3 separate regions of the Homo sapiens genome follow, and regions 1 and 2 are each linked to region 3. The links are contacts of gene promoters, found by promoter capture Hi-C in human tissues and cell types (Jung and others, 2019). All regions are on one chromosome and are shown on one strand. The core of a region is centred on a gene start or on the middle of the fragment in contact, and the rest is flanking DNA. Distances in the headings are between cores, read along the strand shown. Region 1 has its middle 33 kb from the start of LINC00524. Region 2 has its middle 64 kb from the start of LINC00524. Region 3 holds the start of DIO3 (iodothyronine deiodinase 3).

Region 1 (3,951 bases), core at 163-2,662, 190 kb after region 3:
ACAGCTGGATCCTGAAGTCGGGATCCCCCATTAGGTCCTGAAAGGGGTCTGAGAGGAGCACCTCCCTGTCTGCTGCACCGGAGTTTATAATATTTACCATCAGCAAAGCATAATTCTCCATTGTATGATTTCTGCTATAGTTGCAAACATCTGCATTGCTCACTGACACCTCTTTACCAAGGCTCACCTATACTAGAGTTTTTAAAATTTTACTCATCTTTTGCTTAGCTGGATTATTGTTTCAGTGTTTCCTTTGAGAAGGATTCATAGGTTTTATATTACTGAATTCTTTAATGTTTGAGAATGCTTGCCTTTTGTTTTCTTCTTGAAGGGTAATTTGGCAAAGTAAGAAATTGCTCTGTTGTCTTCTATTGCTGAATGATTCTGTGATGTCTGAGATTAACAGATTTTTTCCACCTTGTAAGTTATTTGCTTTTTTCTAGTTTTATGCTTAAATAATGAGCTCTTTGACATTGATTGGTGCTTAGTAACAACCAGGGTATATCTGAAGCCTTCCTGGTATATTAGTAATCTTTCAATTGGTATATCCACTTTTTCCTTCACTTCAGGAAAAATGTCTTGTGTTATATCTTGGAATAATGTCTTCTATTCCATTTAGTGAGTTGTCTGCTTGAGGGACATTTGTTTTCCTTCGTTTGAATGCCCTGCCTGTCCTCCATATCCATGATCTTCTCTTTAATCACTCCCAACTCTTTATTTTTTTTCTTCTGCATTTCCGGTCATGACCTCAGATCATAACTCCATGTCATTAATTTAGTTTCCAAGTGTCAGATCTCTTCTTGTTTGTAATTTATTTATTTGATTTATAAATTGGCTCTAAGGTTTCTTAGCTGGTCAATATTATTCTTTTATTTTATACTTGCACCTTTTGGTTTTTGTATAGTTGTATTCATATATATATATATATGAGTAGTATTCATATATACAAATGTATACATATATATTATATGTAGATATAGATATATTCAAACATATGCATACGTATCTATGTATCTAATTTATCTATCTAATCTATCTGTCTATATATCTAATTTATCTGTATCTATCTGCCTATCATCTATCTGTCTGCCTATCTATCATCTATCTGTCATCTATCTGTCTATCCATCATCTATCTATCTGCCTATCATCTATCTGTCTATCTATCTCTCTATGTATCTATGTATCTCTCTATGTATCTATGTATCTATCTGTCTATCTATCTATCTATCATCTATCTATCATCTATCTATGTATCTATGTATCTCTCTATGTATCTATGTATGTATGTATCTATCTATCTATCTCTCTATCTCTCTATCTATGTATCTGTCTGTCTGTCTATCTATCTATCTATTCAGCCAGCCATTCATTCTTTGGTATGCAGCACTCACAGGGAATCTGATCCTGCGTTTTCTCCCAGACTTTATTCTTCAACGATTTCTCTCATTCCCTTCCTCTTTGTTCTCTCTCCTCCCTTCCCATCCTTCTTTGGGTAGTACATGTGCATTTATCGCCTTGCTATTTTTCATTCTTTTCATGATATATGGCAGAGGCAGCTCCATCTAGCTTTCCTATTTGTGCGATGCATTCTGTGATACGTTTCCCCATCTTACCGGGGGCTAGTTTGTCATTCTCTCCTTGGGCTGTACTTTGAAGACTACTCTCAATCAGATATCCTATTGTCTAAGTTTTCAGGGAGTGAGGGGTAGCGGAGGTGGTCCCTGTTGGACACCTCCCTTGAGTGTTCTGTCCCAGGACCACTTCACTCAGCTGTGGGCATGTTCTCCCTCCCACAGGCCACAAATTGTTATTCTAACTCAGCACAGTGCCCTGGTGGACTTGCCAGATAAAATACAGGATGCCCAGTTGAATTTGAATTTCAGATAAACAATGCATAATTTTTTAAGTATAAGTATGTCCCCAAGGGGACATTTTGGCACCTTCTCATGTGCTAAATCTGGCAGCCTCACGCCCTGGAAAATGCCAAATGTGTTTCCCTTGCTGAGCTCCCATTGTGAAGTGCAGGAACTTCTACTCCTGAGAGCTCTAACTTCACTTTTGCCTGGCTGTCCCTGCAGCCCTGCCCCATAGGCCGCCCACTGCAGGAGTTCTGGGAGAATTCTCAGTCTCAATTTCTTTCCTTAGGAAAGCTTCCAGGGGTTGAGGGTGGGGTTAGGAATCACACGACCTTGTGCCAAACCAGCATCTCCTGCTTTTCCCTTGGCTGCCCTTTTTCATGTTTATGGCACAAGGTGGTTATTGCTAGTGAATTTTGCTCTAATGAATTCTTTTCCTTTGGTTGGGTCTTGGAGGAGGAGGAGGAGTCTGTGGTTCTTCTTCCTCCTGCCATCTGCATCTGGCAGCGCTCTTCTGTAATTGTTTATTCATTCACCGAATACTTACTGAGTGCCTACTGTTCAATGTCTGCCGTCGAGGGAAAGTAGATGCAGCAATTATCACCCTGTGACAAGGCTGTTATAGACACTAGTGAAGGAAGTTGCGTTCTGCAGTTGATTTTGGCTGCGTGGGTTCCTGTCCTGTCTTCCCGTTAGACAGAGAGCTCCTTCAAGGCAGGAATCGGGTGTCGGGCATCTCAGTCCTTGTCTGGAGGGGTGGTCAGTGTTTGTTGCACAGACGACGGAATGAGTGAATGGGATGCCAGGTAAAAGGAGGGCTGTCTGGGCACAGTAAGCGTATTAGTGCCTTGATCCTCCGACTGCCAGAAACAAAGATAGAGACAGCTTGGCTCTGCCCTTAGTCACGCGGTGGTTCAAGACAGGGTGTCGCTAATCACTAACTGAGCATTCCAGGTCTGGTTTAGTCTTCGTTGTCATAAATTAATGGTGCATTTGTTGAATGAATCTAGAAAAGAGCTGTCAAGGTAAAGGTTTAAAAGGAGGAAAACTTTACTAGGCAGTGGAGGTTCAGGATCAATGAGACCCAGCGGTGGTTCTAAGCGGCATTTGTCATCTGGTAGGGAAGACAGACAGGCAAGCCCACACGCGGCAGGAGGGTCGGTGTGGAACGCAGGAACTGAGTGGACTGTGGGCCACGTGGGAAGCTGAGGGCAGCCCGGCCGCAGCAGCGGGGCAAAGGCAGTGAATGCTGAAAAGCAGGGTCTACCTGAGAGGTCAGTGAGCTCCGAAGGAGCGTGGGAGGCAGATGAAGCTGTCCGCAGACAGCAGATGGTGAAGAGGCCTGTGAGCCATGTTAGGGGTTGGACTGAAGTCCACGCGGAGTCCTGGACAGGTGGGAATACAGGTAACAGGGCCCTCCTGCTGCCGCCTCCGCCAGGGAGCACGAACAGAACTGCCCAGAGCCAGGCACACTCCACTCTCCTGACAATCACCAATCTGTTCACGGCAACCCTTCCGTGGCAAAATCCTGACCCTCCAAAAACGTCGTGTTCACCTGGAACCTCAGAGGGTGACCTTATTTGGAAATAAGGTCTTTGCAGGTGTAATTAAAGAAAGGTGTAATTAACCTGCTGGGTTAGGGTGGGCCCTAAACCCAATGACTGGTGTCCTTATAGGAGACAGAAAAGGACACATGGAAACAGGGAGGCCATGCGGAGACGGAGGCAGAGGCTGGAGTTCTGTTCCCACAAACCAAGGAATGCCTGAAGCACCAGAGTCTGAAAGGGGCAAGGAGCCTCCTCCCCTGGGGTCATGGGAGGGGCACACTCACACACAATGAAACACAATCCCCATGTGATTCTAAATCGTGGCCTCTTCCATGTTCCAGAGGCTCAGCCAGGACTCAGGAAACGGGCAGCAGAAAGGGAAGTTGGAGGGCCGGCCTGGGCAGTAGAGGGAGGGTCGGAGGGCCGGCCTGGGCAGCCCCGGCCTCTGCTGGCTCCCTCTCTAATTCTGCTCTCAGCCTTTCCTCTCTACTGAGAGGCTCTCCTCACTGCCTTCTGCCCCTGCTCACCCCGCTGTGGTCCTAACGT
Region 2 (3,402 bases), core at 418-2,917, 220 kb after region 3:
CTTGAGTGAGATCTGGCAGTTCATGTCTTTCAAGGACTTTTTCCATTTTATTGAAATTATTGAGTTTATTTATAGAAAGTTGCTCATAATATTCTCTCATAGTCATTTTATTGTCTGCAGTATTTTCAGTGATATCCTTTTTCTCTCTTATTTCTGATATTGGCAATTTGCTTTTTTCTCTTTCTTTTTCCAGATCTGTCTGGAGAGTGGTTTATCAATTTGATCCTTTTTTTTTTTTTTAAAGAGATGAGGTCTCACTATTTTTCCCAGGCTGGTCTCGAGCTCCTGAGCTCAAGTAATCCTCCTGCCCTGGCCTCCCAAAATGCTAGGATGACAAGCGTAAGTCACCATGCCCAGCCTTTTGCTACATATATTTTTTAAATAGAGGTTGCTTTAGGACTTTCAGTATAAATCTTAAATTTATAACAGTCTGTCTTTGAGTAATATTAGACTACCTCCCATACAGCACAACCATCTTACCAAGCTGTACTCCTGTTTCTCCCTTTCCAGCCTTTGTGCTATTGCTGTTATGCCTTTCATTTCTTCATATACTTTAAGCCTCATTATTAAGCTTACTTGAAATAGTCAATTATCTTTTAAAGAGATTTTTTTTTAAATAAGAGAAAATGCCTTTTATATTTATTCAATATGGACCATTGCTGGTGCTCTTCGTTTCTTTGCATACATCTAGATTTCTATCTGTTAACATTTGTCTTCTGCTCAAAGGGCTTACTTGACCATTTCTTGCAAGTGAAGGTCTGCTGGCAATGGACTTCTTCAGCTTTTGTGTATCTGAAAAGGTCTTCCTTTTTGCCTTTATTTTTGAAAGATAATTTTTCTTGGTGGGTAAATAATTCTAGATGGACAGTTGTTTTCACTTTCAGATGTTGCTGTATTATCTTTTGGCATACTTTGTTTCTGATAAGAATTTGGCTCTCATTCTTACATTTGTTCTTCTGTACATAAAGCATTTCTCCCTCCCTTATGCTGAATGCTTTTAAAGTTTTCTCTATATCACTGCTTTTGGGCAATTTTACTATGATGTACAGTGGTTGAGGTTCTTCAAACTTCTTGTATCTGTGGGTTTATAGTTTTTATAGAATTTGGAAACATTTCAATCATAATTTCTTCAATTTTTTCCCATCTGCCTCTCCTTCAGGGACTCCAATTACATGTAGATTGGGACATTTGAATTTGTCCCAGCAATGCTAATTCTCTGGTCAGTCTCCCCTTCCCCCATCTTTTTACTTTCTTTATTTTATTTTGTGTGGCTTGCATTTCTGTGTCTTCAGGTACACTACATTTTTTTTTCTATAGTGTAATCTACACTTCATCCTAAGCTTTAAAAAAAACTCTATCAATTCAATTTGTGTCTTCTTTTCTACAACTTCCAATGCCTCTTTTTCAATATTCTTATGTTCTCCTCTACCTTCTTTACATACAAAATATAACTTTTTAACATCTTTGTCGACTAACTCTACATACAAAATATGATAACTTTTTAACATCTTTGTCCACTAACTCTATCATCTGTGTCATTTCTGGGTCTGTTTCTATTGATTGATATTCCTGATTCTGGGTCATATTTTTCTATTACTTTGCATTCTTTTCCATTGGATGCCAGCATTGTACATTTTATTTTGTAGGTGCCGGATAACTTTATATTCCTTTACATGTTCTTGAGTGTTATCCTTGGAAGCCATTGTGTTACTTGGAAACAGCCTGATCCTTTTTGAGGTTTACTTTAAAGCGTTGTCAGGGGAAACCAGGATGGCCATTGGTGTAGGGATGATTTTACTTTGCTCTTGTGGCAATAGCCTTCTGAGTACTCTACCTGATGCCTTGGGTATTACAAAGTTTCTCTACTTGGACTGGTGAGAACACAATCTGTTCCTGGCCCACTGAGACTCACACATTTTTCTGCCTGTTCCTTTCTGGTGGGAGTTTCCTGGCCTTGGTAGTTGTCTTGCAGGCATACATCCATCAGTACTCCATGGAAGTCTCCAGGGGAAGCCTCGTTGAACTCTGCCCTACAATTCTAGCTGCCTGGGCCTCCCTGGGTTCTCAGCTCTGTCTCCTCCTTTGAGGGAACAGCAGGCTCTGTTTGGGTCAGCTTTCCCTGGAACGTAGCCTGGAAAGGATTTCTAGGTGGTAAGTGAGGACCGTGGTAAGGCTTGCCCATTTGTTTCCCTTCTTTAAAGGATCTCTGCTCTGTGTGGCCTGTTGTTCTGTGTCCAAAAATCATTGTCTTTTTTTTTTTTATAGTTGTTTTGTCTGGTTGTTTGGTTGTTTAGTGTGGGAGGGCAAAGCTAGTTCCTGTGACTGCATCATGGTCAGAAACAGAAATTCTGCCTATGGACAGAGCATGGTGGCTCACACCTGTAATTCCAGCTCTTCGGGAGGCCAAGGCAGGTGGATCACTTGAGGCCAGGAGTTTGAGACCAGGCTGGCCAACATGGTGAAATCCCATCTGTAATAAAAATACAAAAACTAGCCAGGCCTGATGGTGGGCACCTGTAGTCCAAGCTACTCGGGAGGCTGAGGCGGGAGAATCACTTAAACCCAGGAGGCAGAGGTGGCAGTGAGTCGAGATTGCACCACTGCACTCCAGCCTGGGTGACTCTGTCTCAAAAAAAAAAAAAAGAAAAGAAAGAAATTTTACCTATATATTTTTTTATTGTGGTAAAATATACAGAACATGAAAGTTACTATCTTAGCCATTTTTATGTGTACAGTTGTGTGGCATTATGTACATTCACATTGTGGTGCAACCATCACCATCATCCACTCTAGAACATGTTTATCCTTCCAAGTTAAAACTATGTCCCCATTAAACAAGAACACCCAATTTCTACCTTCCACCCAGCTCCTGATAACCACCATTCTACTTTCTTAATCTTGGAATAGTACAGTATTTGTCCTCTTGTGTGTGGCTTATTTTATTTAGAATAACATCTTTAAGATTCACTCATGTTGTAATATTGTGTCAAATTTTCCTTCCTTCTTCAAATGTTTAATTGACACATAAGAATTGTACATATTTATGGGGTAGATGTGATATTTCGATATGTGTATACAATGTGTAATGAAAAGCGAGGTAACTAGTATATCTATCACCTCAAACATTTACCATTTCTTTGTATTGGGAGCATTCAAAATCTTCTGGCTGAATAATATTCCACTGTATGGATGTACCACGTTTTGTTTACCCTTTCATCTGTTGATGGGCACTTGGTTGTTTCTACCTTTTTGTTGTGAAGAAAGCTGCTATGAACACAGGTGTACATATATCTATGTGAGTTCTTTTCTGTTCTTTTTGCTATCTATCCAGAAGTGGAATTGCTAGATCATATAATAATTATATTATATGTCAACTATTTTGAGGAAGTGCCATACTGCTCT
Region 3 (3,684 bases), core at 716-3,215:
AACCAGAAAGCAGTTTACCTCAAGCCTTTATTATTGTAGATTGAAAGAAGTTTATATACAGGAAATATTTCCAGCAAAACACTCACCAAATGGCCTTCGAATCAGGGGCCCTCCACCTCCCAGCCCCACAATCAGCAGCTCTGCCTAGGACTCCCCTCACTTGGGGACCTCAGGCTCTCCCCCCACCTCTCTTTCCCCGGACTCCATCACCCCAACGTCATTCCCCAGGAGTCTCAGCTTTTTCTCTCTCCCTGGGGCGCTGCGAACCTCGCCAATGCCTCTCAAGCTATCTTCCTCTGGTCCCAAAGCAGACACCCCAACTTCCCTCCCATTTAAGGTGGTTACCTCACGGAAACCCAGAGCACCCTCCCCCTCAAGGTTTAGGTGCTGCTTTGAGGCCCCTGCAATTCAGAACTAGCTCGTGGTCAAGACCAGTTAGAGATAGTTCGTCATCAGCAGTGGGGCTCCTGTGCACCCAAAACAAGCGGGGGAAACTACCCTGCCCACCCCTCCCCATCCACGACATCACTTCCCCTACCAGGGACAGGAAACAGACACAAAAGCAACAGGGAACCCCCTCTCCGCGCGCGACAGGTGGGTGCCAGGCAACTAGCTCAGCTGAGCTGAGAGTCTCCTGGAACCCAGCTGCGCTCAGGGCGCGCGGGCGTGGCCAAGGTCTCTGTGCAGCTGCGGGAAGCACCGGGCCAAAGCACTTGGCTGAGGGCACGCTGGGGAGGGGGTGTAAGAAAATGCTGTAGAGGCAAAGTCCTGGGGGCACACGGACAAGGGCAAGCCATATCCCGCGCTCAAAAGAGGATTTCCAGTGAGCCAGGCAGGTGTGAATGAGACAGTTACAGAAGCAGAGTCCCAGGGAGGTAGGGGAGATTGTTCATGTGGCTGAGGGTGCAGACTCAGTCTGAAATGGTGGCTCAGCACATCAGTGTCACTGGGGCCTCGCCAAGCGTGACTTGGTTTGAGGCGCTTGCACGTGGGCTTCGAAGGCTCGAAGGCCCAGCCCACCAAGTTCAGTCAATTGTCCGTTGGATGTTTACACCCTCCGGGGCCGAGCGCCGTGCAGTTGCTCATCATAGCGTTCCAACCAAGTGCGCAGCTCAGAGACCTGGTAGCCGTCGGGGCCACGGCCGCCCTGGTACATAATAGTGCCACTCTGGATGACATAGAGACGCTCGAAGTAGGCGCCATAGGCCGAGCTGCTGGAGTTGGCCATGGTGTCGAGGACCAGAGCGCAGCCGGGTGCACCTTGCTGCAGTACCCTCGCTGCGCTGACCCGGTCCTCCAGGCTCCGGTGCTGTGGGATGATGTAGGGAGAGTCCGTGGTGACCCAGCCGTCGGAGGGGTGCGCTTCCTCGATGTAGATGATGAGGAAGTCGACGTCGCGCTGGTACTTAGTGACCAGGCGCTGGAAGGCGCTCATGCGCGCCATGAACGGTGGTCAGGTGCAGCTGCCGAAATTGAGAACCAGCGGGCGGTTCCCTTGCGCGTAGTCGAGGATGTGCTGGCTCTGGAAGCCGTCGGGCAGAACCACCTCGGAGTTGGGCGCCGGACCGCCCTCGTGCGCCTGCTTGAAGAAATCCAACTTCTGGCCATGCCACACCGCCTTGAGCGACGCCAGGGTGCACAGGCGGTTGTCGTCGGACACGCAGATGGGCGGGTCATCGGGAGGCACCTCCTCGCCTTCACTGTTGAGCTCCACTTCGGGCTCGGGCTGCCCCCGGCGGCGGCGGCCCAGGAAATGCTTGCGGATACACAAGAAATCGAGAAGCCAGAGCATGAAGGCCGTGCCGAGGAAGCGCGGGAAGAGCACGAGGCACGAGGCGGTCTGGGCGCAGAGCCTCAAGGAGTGAAGCAGCAGGGAGCGGAGCATGGTGGCTGCAGGCCCCGAAGCCCCCTGGGACCCCTCGCCCTCTCCGACCACCAACCGCGACGTGGCCTGGCGAGGCATCTGGGCTTCAGCAGTGCAGGGAGTTCAATTTATAGCGGAGGCTTCAATTGGCGGGAGACTCCACCTCCGGCCCGGCCCGCCCCCTTGCAACTTGAGCCCGGAGGGATCACCCAGCAGCGCGGCCAATGCCCTAGAAATCTTGGGCTGAGGGCGGGCGCAGGCGGGCGGAGGGCGGAGCGGCCGGGCCTGGGGCCGGTGGGGGCGGGCCCGGGCCCCGCAGCCAGCTCTCGGGGGCGGGGGACTCCGGCAGCCGCTGCCGCTGGGGACCGGGAGCCCGACCAGGGACCTGGGCGTCCGCTGGGGAGGTCCTCCAGCTGGCGCGAGCGCTGCGCGCCGCCCTGGTCCCCGCCGCCTGGCTCCGGCCCGCGCCCCCCTCGCCGCGCACCTGAGCCGAGCTCCCCGGCGGCCGCCGAGCCGCGCCGGAGCTCCGGTTCGCTTCCCGCGCGCCGCCGCCAACGCCGCCCACGCCGCTGCCGCTCGTGCGGGGCCGCTGCCCAGGTGCCGCGGGAGGCCGGGTCCGCGGCCGCCGCTTCGGTGGCCCCGGCTCCCGCCCCACCGAGGACGCGGGCCAGCGAGGAGGCAACTTTGCGTTCCCGCCGCCTTCCTGGCTCGCCCGCGGGCGCCGCTCGCCTGCCGGAGCCCGCCCGCCCGCCTCCCGCGCGCGCTCACACTCGCGCCTCGCACACGGCCGCCCCCCGCACCGCCCCGCCACGCACACCGCGCTCCGCGCCCCCCGCCGCTGCCCGAGGCTGCCGCGCGCCGCCCCAGCCCGCGCCGCCCTGGCCGCGCCCGCCCCGTCCCATCTCGTTCCAGCGGGGCGCCGCGGTTCCTGGGTCAGCGGCCGCCGGGGCCGGGCTGAGAGGTGCGGAGGGCAGAGCCCGCGGGCGGGTTACCGCCGGGCGCCGGAGACCGGAGAGCTGGGGAAAGCGGCGCCGGCCCTGCGCCCCCAGCCGACCCGGGCGCGGGGCGCCACGGGCGTGGGGCGCGGGGCAGCGGGCGCGGGGCGGCGCCGGCCCCGGGCGGCTCTCCCACTAGGGGTAGCTGTTGCCTGAACGCCGGAGCGCTCCCCTCTCGCCGCTTGCCTCGCCCAGCGCAGCCCCGGCCGCTGGGCGCACCCGTCCCGTTCGTCCCCGGACGTTGCTCTCTACCCCGGGAACGTCGAGACTGGAGCGCCCGAACTGAGCCACCTTCGCGGACCCCGAGAGCGGCGGCGCGACTCACCGCGGAGGCGCCCGGACGCGTCAAGTGCGTACTTTCAACCGTAAATGGGTGCTGAGCGTTTAGGGGTGCGGGGCAACTCCCTAACTCGTGGGGCCCTGGCCGGCCCTGCCGCGGCGTCCGAGACCTTCTGATCCCTCGCTGCGCGCGGCGCGGGGTTGGCGACTTGGGCTCAGGGGCGGCGGGGCGGGGAGGTGCCTTGACCTAGGGACCCAGAGGCCGGGAGCAAGTCTCCTTTCGCCTTGGACTGCAGTGTCCCCCAGGGCAAGGCCTGAACCAGGTCGCGAGGGTCTGTCTCCCGTCTGGGGAGCTGAACTGCCCGAGACACTGTCGCAGTCGCGGGGACTTGTCTGGAGCGGCGGGGTCTGAGCCCAAGTCGGAAGCCGCCGCCGCCGCCAGCGTCCCGTGCGCCTGCCGCCCCGGGACCAGCCGCGAAACTTCTTCTCGGGACGGAGACAGCGCTCGCCGCCCGGGCCGAGGTAGGAGCTGGCTGGGCTCGGTAG

What was found. The method cuts DNA at HindIII sites, captures the fragments that hold promoters and counts their contacts. A contact is called where the count stands out against the background at its distance.
Region 1: a fragment that was not itself captured here is called in contact with the fragment with the promoter of DIO3 in region 3 in 2 of the 25 tissues and cell types used here (H1 embryonic stem cells and IMR-90 fibroblasts).
Region 2: a fragment that was not itself captured here is called in contact with the fragment with the promoter of DIO3 in region 3 in 3 of the 25 tissues and cell types used here (H1 embryonic stem cells, IMR-90 fibroblasts and mesendoderm cells).

The regions. Positions count from the first base shown.
Region 1 is chr14:101,373,226-101,377,176 of GRCh38, reverse strand. No RefSeq gene overlaps it. Among named protein-coding and RNA genes, the nearest start is that of LINC00524, 33 kb to the left of the region's middle. The HindIII fragment of the contact is 6,318 bases long and covers 1-3,951 here.
Region 2 is chr14:101,342,248-101,345,649 of GRCh38, reverse strand. No RefSeq gene overlaps it. Among named protein-coding and RNA genes, the nearest start is that of LINC00524, 64 kb to the left of the region's middle. The HindIII fragment of the contact is 3,603 bases long and covers 1-3,402 here.
Region 3 is chr14:101,559,776-101,563,459 of GRCh38, reverse strand. It overlaps DIO3 (iodothyronine deiodinase 3), which reads right to left and starts at 1,965. Exons shown (of 1, transcript NM_001362.4): 1 at 8-1,965. The coding sequence starts at 1,963. The coding sequence ends at 1,049. It overlaps DIO3OS (DIO3 opposite strand upstream RNA), which reads left to right and starts at 3,038. Exons shown (of 2, transcript NR_152588.1): 1 at 3,038-3,208. MIR1247 (microRNA 1247) reads left to right here and starts at 3,038; the gene lies at 3,038-3,173. The HindIII fragment of the contact is 20,870 bases long and covers 1-3,684 here.